2 separate regions of the Homo sapiens genome follow, and region 2 is linked to region 1. The links are contacts of gene promoters, found by promoter capture Hi-C in human tissues and cell types (Jung and others, 2019). All regions are on one chromosome and are shown on one strand. Each heading gives the region's core, a stretch centred on a gene start or on the middle of the fragment in contact. The rest is flanking DNA. Distances are from core to core; before and after follow the strand shown.

Region 1 (4,467 bases), core at 738-3,237:
CTAAACAGAACCCAAATCATTCAGCCTTTTTCTGTAATTATATATGGGAAGTGGTTCAGTGACAGCCTAGACACTGGAGTTGAATGGTATTGGTTTAACTCAGGACAATTCCTAACTCTGTGACCTTGGGCATGTCATGTAACCTCTATAAGCTTTGGTCTTCTCATTTGAAAATGGGCATAATCTTTTCAGAATTATGAAAATAAAAGGAAATAATTCATGTGTTTGGAACCTTAAAAAGCATTCCATAAATGATACTTTTTATTACCATGTGGATCAGAACAGTGGGGAAAAGCCATTAACTTATGGGGAAAATCCATTAACTTAAAAGGCAAGCAGGGAGCCCACACTAGAGGGCAAAATAAGGGAGAAGCTAGCAGCCTCCCTTCTGGGACCAAGGGCAGGGTTCTGCAAAATGTACATATATGACTTCTAGGGGGTGCTATTCAATTTCATCCTTAGACTTGTGTATAGTTATTATAATGATTTTCTGGCAGATGGCAGTAAAATGTCCTGAGGAGGGAGCACCATTTCCTAATTCACCCAGAGATAACTTATGGGTAGGATTAATCTCCCGTAGACCCCTCTGAGACTCCTTTAATAATAATTTAATTTTTAAGTGATTCTACTACTATAAACATGTACACACATACACATACTGTGACACAGAACAATGCAAATACAGTTTCAGGAGATTCAGGAATTTTGAAGACCACCCATGTTAAAAGCCCAGTTCTAAGTGGTCTCAGAATCTCTAGAAGGTGTTTCCCATTCCCATCCTCCCCACTCTCATCCCCAATCTATCTAGAACATAATTAACAAAGGTGATTTAGCTCCAGAGCCTAGGAACACACTGCTGCAATTTCTGATATGAGCAGAACCCTCCCCTTCTTAAGTTTTTAAATATTTTTGTGTTGGTACTGAATTTATTTGGTTGTATTGCTTCCCCCGGAGTGCCTACTTTTCATTGAAAGTGGAAATCTCTGCAGTATTTTATTTTGTCCATGGAAGTTCACAAGCTTGGTCTTTGATGCTTCCAGGACTCATTAAAACACCTCACTTCTACATGTCTGAACTATAGCCCATGGACCTGGTAAGAGAGAAGCCCAAAGAAATTGGAAAATAAATCACCACACTGACTTTCCAAATTAAAATATATTATATTTTGGATGTTTCATACCTGTCTATATGGTTTTGTCATTGGCAAAAAAATAGCAAGTCTAAGGCAGTTTTAACGTTACATTAAACAATGTGTCCATAGTGAAATGTGATTAGTACATATTTCAGCAGCCCAAATTGCTGGGATAGGAGAAAGAAAGCACTGATCGTGGACCTATTTCGAAGAATGCACTAATGACTTTTCAAAATAATAGTATTTTCACGGGATGTGAGATGTCCAAAATTCTGATGCTGAAATATCAACATAGGATCAGAACTTATTTTAGTCTCCTATGCCACATTGAAACTTAATTTCGAGTGGAAAGGAAAGGTTTTCCCTGTTACAATTAAGATGTTTCTGATCATAAAATGAAGCTTACATTGTCACACTAGATTTCTTGATCCAACGCAGTACCCTCCCCGCCAATCCATCCAGAGTCCTCATTCCTAAATGCAATGCTTAAAAGGACATGCCACTATGCCAAACCCAAAGACTCTCATTTGACAGAAAAGGAAATGAATCTCTGTTACCTTTCTATCCCCTTCCTTTTGAATGAGCCATTTTTCTTCTTGAGTTGCTGGAATCTTCGGCACTGTCCAACTTTTCTGTAGGCAATCTTAAAGGGTTCTGGTAGATACAGCTGAGGTTGGGCCATTGCTCTCAACTTCACCTGTAGTAGCCGTTTTGGATTGTTTTAGTTCTTGAACTTACAGACTTCAATACAAAATCATCCAGTGACTGAATGTACTGTCAAGGTGTGGGCTATTCGGAATAAAATATGTAGGAAATTTTTAGAGTCTTTCCCTTATTCCCTTCCAGGTGTTAGAGACATTATTTGTGGGACTGGCCCTGTTTACAACTTCACAGAGGTCACCAGTGATGTATTTGACAGAGCTGTGTGAAATTCCATGGACCTTTGTGGAACACTTCACAGATTCTTGAACAAGGCAAATACAGAAATGATGATCTGATTGCCTCAATGCTGGCATTTGGATAGAAAAAAAAAATCAAACAACAACAACAACAACAAAAAACACCCACACACTAATTGACCACCACATTCAGAAGTGCGTATTTGAACTCTGAAGTGGTAGGGACCTATAGGAATACCAACGATACGCTGATTAACACAAGTTGAGCTTCTGTTAGATCTCTCAGTTACAGCTGGTGAATGTTCTCTGTGTCCTGTGGGACACATATGACAAGGCCAGTTGTTGTTTGGACATCTCAAAATGTACCCCAAGGGTGGTTTTCATTACATCTTGGAATTTTGCAGTGGTCTCTCAAAGTACATTGCTAAATTGAGGACCTGATCCACCCCTCCCTTCCAACATTGCCCCATTTATTTCGTGGTGAAGAGCGAATTCTGCCTGTGATGGAACTTCTCACCACAAGGTGGCAGCAGACACTAGGATTTATTCCTGTTACCCTCTCGCGGTTTGAGTTGTTCAGTCAAATAACTAGATGCTTAACAAGAAAAACTCCTCTAGAAAGGTTCTGGGAGTTACAAGAATTACTCTGCTTTCTGTGTTTGCATTAATCAATAATCTGGAGCATACTTCTCAAGCTTTCAAGTGCACACAAACTTCCTGGAGGTCTTTTTAAGATGCAGATTTCGATACAGTACATCTGGGCTGGGATCCAAGAATTTGCACTCCTAACAAACCCGCAGGTGACGCTGATGATGCCAGACTGCACTTGGAGTAGTGAGGGTCTTGTATGTTTCAGTACTGGGGAAAAGAGCTTTAAAATGGTCTAGAATGAAGTGTATAATGTTAAGGGGCTAAGAGAGTGGATTTGGGAATTATGCATGAGTTCTCATTTCTAGCTTAGCTATGTGACCTTGGCCAATTCATTTTAACCCACCCATGCTTGTTTTCTCATCCCTAAAGTGGGACAACTCATAGTGCCCAAGCCATAGTTTTATGGCAAAATTCAAGTGAAATAGAAATTCCGCTTCAGCAGGGAATGAGACCCAGGAATCCATATTCTAGGAGAGTGGGTGCAGATGTTCCTCTGTCCCTTATTTGAGAAACGCTGAAGTAGAGCATATCTAATATGCCTTGGCCAAATGGACATATGCTCCTCCCTGGTCTGTTTTTCCTCATCTGTTGGCATCCTCAGAGCACAATAAATAATAGGTGCTTGAATAAATGAATACATGAATATTTTCTTTAGCAACAGGGCAATATTTTTCATGCAATTATTGGCACTCCTGCCTTAATTCTGTTGTATTTCATCAATTATCTAGATGAATGAGATGAATTTTATGCTAGGAAAGACAGCTGTTTTTTATTTGTGCATGGGTGTCTATGTACATGTCTCTGTGTGTGCATGTCTGCATGTATGTGTGTATGTAATAGGCTGAAACACTTGCTGCTGTGGCATCTGTGACAAAACTTGTAGGTTCCCAAAGGAGTCCTGAAGCAGATGACAGAACTAGAAGGAGTGGGAAGGGGGTGGGGAAAGAGTTAGAGTATAGAGAGACATCAATTTTGAGCTGTGTCTGGATTTACATTCTAGATCTACCCCTTCCAAGCTTATGGGTCCTTGGGCGGGTAACGAAAACCTCTTTGGACCTTCATTTTCTCGTTCGTAAAACAGGAGTAATAACTGCTACCTCCCAAGCTTCTTTGAGTCATTCAGTTATTTAACAAATATTTGAATGCCTAGTGGTTCCCAGGCACCACCCTAGACACCACCCTAGACACCAGGGATACTGCAGTGAACAACATACACAAAATCTCTGAACTCATATAACTTAATATGCTGTGGGAGATGCAGGTAACAAGGAAATGAACATTTTAATTTCAGCTGGTAGTAAATGTTATGAAAAAAGTAAAAGAGGATGATGGGATAGAGTGACTGAGGATGAGGAGTGACTTTAGATGGAGCGTTAGGAAAGCCTGTCCAATGAGGTCATTGGTCCTGAATGCTGAACGGGGAAAAGAGCCAATCGTGTGAAAATTTGTGTGACCCAGGCAGATGAAACAGCATGTGCCAAAGCCCGGAGGTGGAAGAAGCCCAGTGTCTTTGAAAATGTGGAAGAAAGCGGTCAGGTGCGATGGCTCACGCCTGTAATCCCAGCACTTTGGGAGGCCGAGGTGGGTGGATCACGAGAGCAGGAGATCGAGAACATCCTGCCTAACGTGGTGAAACCCCCATCTCTACTAAAAATACAAAAAAATTAGCCGGGCGTGGTAACGGGTGCCTGTAGTCCCAGCTACTCAGGAGGTTGAGGCAGGAGAATGGCGTGAACACGGGAGGCAGAGCTTGCAGTGAGCCGAGATCGCGCCACTGCACTCCAG
Region 2 (4,467 bases), core at 657-3,156, 140 kb after region 1:
GAGGGAGGTCGGTGGCTGGAAGAAAATGTTTTAATCATCATTTTCCAGAAGAACAGGTTCCCAGAACTATTCTCCTTGCGTTTTTTTCCACATATTGAATTTCTGAACAGTAGCAATTTCGTGGCCAGGACAGACTCTTGCTTGTAGGAGACATACTAAGCGTTTCTCTAGATTGCTTCTCTAGTTATTTGCAGCTGATTTTTTCGCAAATCATCTCTGAAGAAACACAGACAAATCTTTCCTTCATTAGCTTCGTCTACAGCTCCGTGAAGTTTAGCAAGGGAACTGCATTATTTTGAATAATTCAGCTTTCCATCCCAACAGTTCCCCATATATAAGAAAGTACCTGTATTAGAGTACTATGGGCCTGGCTGGCCCCCTTGTTTATATAGATGAAGGTCTGTCTCATGTGGAGTCAAGTTTGGCGATATTTGCAGCAATATAATGAGGTATGAATTGAGGATTAATTCCCAGCCCTGTTACTAGACCTGTTACTGAACAGACTTCAAAATCCAATTATAAATTATAATGCAATATAACATATTTCCAACTCTTACAGAACCTCAGGGACTTGAAGAAATCATTTACCTTGGAGTTATTTACATTTATTGGTTCTTGTTTTCACAATGCCCAATACTTCCAATTTATTATTTCAGGATTCTATTTTTTGCTGAATCCTTGCTCTAATGCTTCCTGTGTTATCAGCTTATGGAAATGAGGAGCTTGTTTTCTATGAGGGGGGCATGGGGGTTCTCTCCGCAAAGGCGCATCCCCAAAGGGAGTTTGTATGGGGCTTAGTTTTTGATTTTAGAATATTTTGGCATTACTGACACACTTAAGACCCAGAGTTTGAAAAAATTAACCATCTTTTCCCCTGAGTATAAAAACCAAACAAACAAAACAAACCATTGTGAACAATGTGGAAAATTTCAATTTGAACATTTAAATGAAAAAAATTAAAATACATATAATTACACCATTCAGTGATTAGAACTATCAATATTTTTGCATATTTATAGGTGCAGTGTTTTTTAGTGTTAAGCACTATGCTGTTTTGCATGGATTGACTTACTTAAGCTTTTCAGCCATTTCACAAGATAAGTAATATTATCCACATTTTCTAAATGAGAAACCAGCACAGCAAGGTTAAGTAATTTGCACAAGGCCATCCAGAGAGAGTTAGAGGTAGGTGTGGGATTCAGACCCACCTAAGCAGTCTAATGCTAGATTTCTGATTTCAGACTCTTCCTTCAACTTCATCAGTGTCATGTTTCCATGTAGATGTACAATGGATGTCATATCAGTGGCTATACATATTTTGTACTTAATGCAGTTACTTATACTGTGTATATAGTTTAGTTTCCCTTCTGGTTGTTTTTTTTTTTTTTTTTTTTTTTTTTTTTGAGACGGAGTCTCGCTTGTGTCCCCCAGGCTGGAGTGCAATGCCATGATCTTGGCTCACTGCAACCTCTGCCTCCCGGGTTCAGGAGATTCTCCTGCCTCAGCCTCCCAAGTAGCTGGGACTACAGGTGCCTGCCACCACGCCCGGCTAATTTTTGTATTTTTAGTAGAGACAGGGTTTCACCATGTTGGCCAGGCTGGTCTCGAACTCCTGAACTCAGATGATCCGCCTGCCTCGGCCTCCCAAAGTGCTAGGATTAATGGTGTGAGCCACCTCGCCCAGGCTTCCATTTTTTACTTATCATGTCATGTGTATTTTTCTCTCCGTTATATTAAGTTGTTTAAAAAAATCATTTTAAATTGTGATTGCATTTTCAGAAAACAAAATATTTATGTCTCACTTCACATCATGTTCCTAATTAAATTTTAGATGAATTAAAGATCTTTAAAGTTTGTAAACAAATTAATGTTTTGGAAAAAAATTAGGAAAATGCAAGGGAATCAACTCACTTGAGTTTGAACCACAGTCCAGCTAGTTAACAGCTCTGTTTTTTGGACAGATTACTTAACCTGTTTGAGCCTCTGCTTCTTAATCTGTAAAATGAAAATGAGATAGTTTCTAAACCAGAGGTTTGTTAAAGGATTAAACAGAATGTTTAGTACTGTGCCAGGCATATAGTAAGCTCTCAGTAAATGTTGGATGCTGCTATTACATGCAGGAATAGAAAAAAACTTTGTCCACAATTTCGAAGGACTACCATCCCTACTTTTCATTTCAAAGGCTGACTCTCAATAACCCATTCTGTTTAAATGACCAGATCCCCTCAACCGTCATCCCATCTTGATAAGAGAGGTTTATTTTAATTGGTATCTAATGAGGAATTGCTATTATTCTTAGACGTAGCTTGGGATGAATTAAGTCAGCTTCAAGTCAAGTTCAGAAATGATAATGTCTTCCTTCCTCTCAGCTTATTTTTTTCTTTATCATAGAATCACAAATGACAAGTTTGAACTATGAGTCTGCATGTTTAGAAGAAGCAAAAAATCTGATTTCCATAACCAGTCTCCATCTCCAAGGGAAAAAGCTGGCAGAATGGCTAAGCAGAAAGGGTGGATGAATTTGATTCCAGAGTCCTGGGTTAGATTTAGCCCAGACCACCCATCCAAATGAAGCCAGAATTGTATGAGATTCAACACCAGGCCACTGACACTTAAACATTTTAATTTGCTCAATCTCCAGGATGGCAAATCTGCATGTAAACCCTGCTATATGCTCAACTTGTTTAGGTCTGAATGATAAAGTCAAGACAGCAGCATTTAATCAGAAGGCAGGGAACAATGTGTGGGAGATTAATGAAGCACTCAGCACTTCCAAGAAATTCTGAGTGACTATTCCAGCAAGGGTGAAGCACAGTATTTTAGGGTTCAAGAATACCTTTGAGATAACTCATGCCAAGCTTCTCTTCATGTGCTTATTGTCTATCTCAATATCTTATTTGATAAAAATATCTGTTCAAATCTTTGTCCATTTTTCTTTCAGTTGGATAGCTTCTTTTCTTGTTCTCCTGTTGTAAGAGGTCTTCACACATTTGAGATGCAAGTTCTCTGTCAGACACATGGATTGTGAATATGTTCTGTCGCTTGCCATTCTGCCTTCTTTATGTTGTTTTTCAAAGAGCAAAATTTTAAAATTTTGATAAGGTTCAATTTATCAGTTTTGAAAAAAAAAACCTTTTGAGAAATGTACAGTTTAAAGAAACAGTCTCTTCACCAATCCATTGATAGCCTAACACAGTCCTTGAGGAAATAGGAAGTCATTGTGAAGAACAGGATAACGTGAGAATAATCTAAAATTTGCTGAATATTCATGTAACAAGATATATAAAAAATAACTTTAAATAAATTGGAATAGATTTTCTTGAGAGCTGCTGTCAGTTCAAACATTTGATTGAGCATATATATGTGAGAAGGGAAAACATGTATACATGCACATATATAGTATATAATATGTTTATATACACACATATAATACATAAGCATATGCATATTTTGGTATAAATATATATTGGTTTTTATCTGTTTATTTTTAGTGTGGACCCATGCATTCTTTTTTTTTTTTTTTTTTTTTTTTTTTTTCAAATGGAATCTTGCTCTGTTGCCCAGGCTGGAGTGCAGTGGCAGGATCTCGGCTCACTGCAACCTCCACTTCCCGGGTTTAAGTGATTCTCCTGCCTCAGCCTCTGGAGTAACAGGGACTACAGATGCCTGCCACCACACCCAGGTAATTTTTATATTTTTAGTAAAGATGGGGTTTCACCATGTTGGCCAGACTTGTCTCAAACTCCTGACTCAGGTGATCCGCCTGCCTTAGCTTCCCAAAGTGCTGGGATTACAGGCGTGAGCCACCGCGCCTGGCCTGCATTCTTATTTTGAATTGTTTATAGTTATTTTGATGCCAGAATTGTCTCAGATCTGGCCATCAGGAGGCCCATGCAGCTGCCCGCTGTGTCCTCATGAAATACCCCTTTATTTATTTACTTTTTGAGCACTTCTTTTCTTTCTGGCACAAAATATTCCAGTCTCATCTTGTACTTCCTTGGCGCTGCTCTCAAATTGAGCATTTATTTCTCCTTGGACCCCTAGTTCCTTTTAGTTTCCCTAGACTCTTAATCTCCAAATGCTAATAATGGTTACTTCTGAATAGTGGACTTTGGAATAATAATAATGTACTTTTTTTGCTTTTCTGTTTGCTTGACTTTTGTTTATAATGAGCACATATCTTCCCCTTGCCCCACCCCCAAAGCCACAAAGATACTAGTAAAAAACAAAACAAAACAAAACTGCAACTACTATCCACCAGATTGCTACCAAGGTGTAATTTCCACATGGTGCCCTTCTTCTTACATTTTTGGTTCTTCTTTTAGTCCTCCTTCTCTATTGACTGCACTTTTAAGGACAGGAGAAACAGGCTTTTGGGCTCACATCAGATCTTTAGTCTAAGGAACTCCATGCAGGAACTTTGAAGGTGGGTTGGGAGTTGACACACTGCAAACATGAAAACATCAG

Evidence for each region. The method cuts DNA at HindIII sites, captures the fragments that hold promoters and counts their contacts. A contact is called where the count stands out against the background at its distance.
Region 2: a fragment that was not itself captured here is called in contact with the fragment with the promoter of C3orf49 in region 1 in 2 of the 25 tissues and cell types used here (heart right ventricle and mesendoderm cells).

The regions. Positions count from the first base shown.
Region 1 is chr3:63,816,819-63,821,285 of GRCh38, reverse strand. C3orf49 (chromosome 3 open reading frame 49) reads right to left here and starts at 1,987. Exons shown (of 7, transcript NM_001355236.2): 1 at 1,690-1,987. The coding sequence starts at 1,814. RefSeq lists a silencer at 2,521-2,640. The HindIII fragment of the contact is 1,936 bases long and covers 1,277-3,212 here.
Region 2 is chr3:63,679,853-63,684,319 of GRCh38, reverse strand. No RefSeq gene overlaps it. Among named protein-coding and RNA genes, the nearest start is that of SNTN, 29 kb to the right of the region's middle. The HindIII fragment of the contact is 4,842 bases long and covers 1-4,327 here.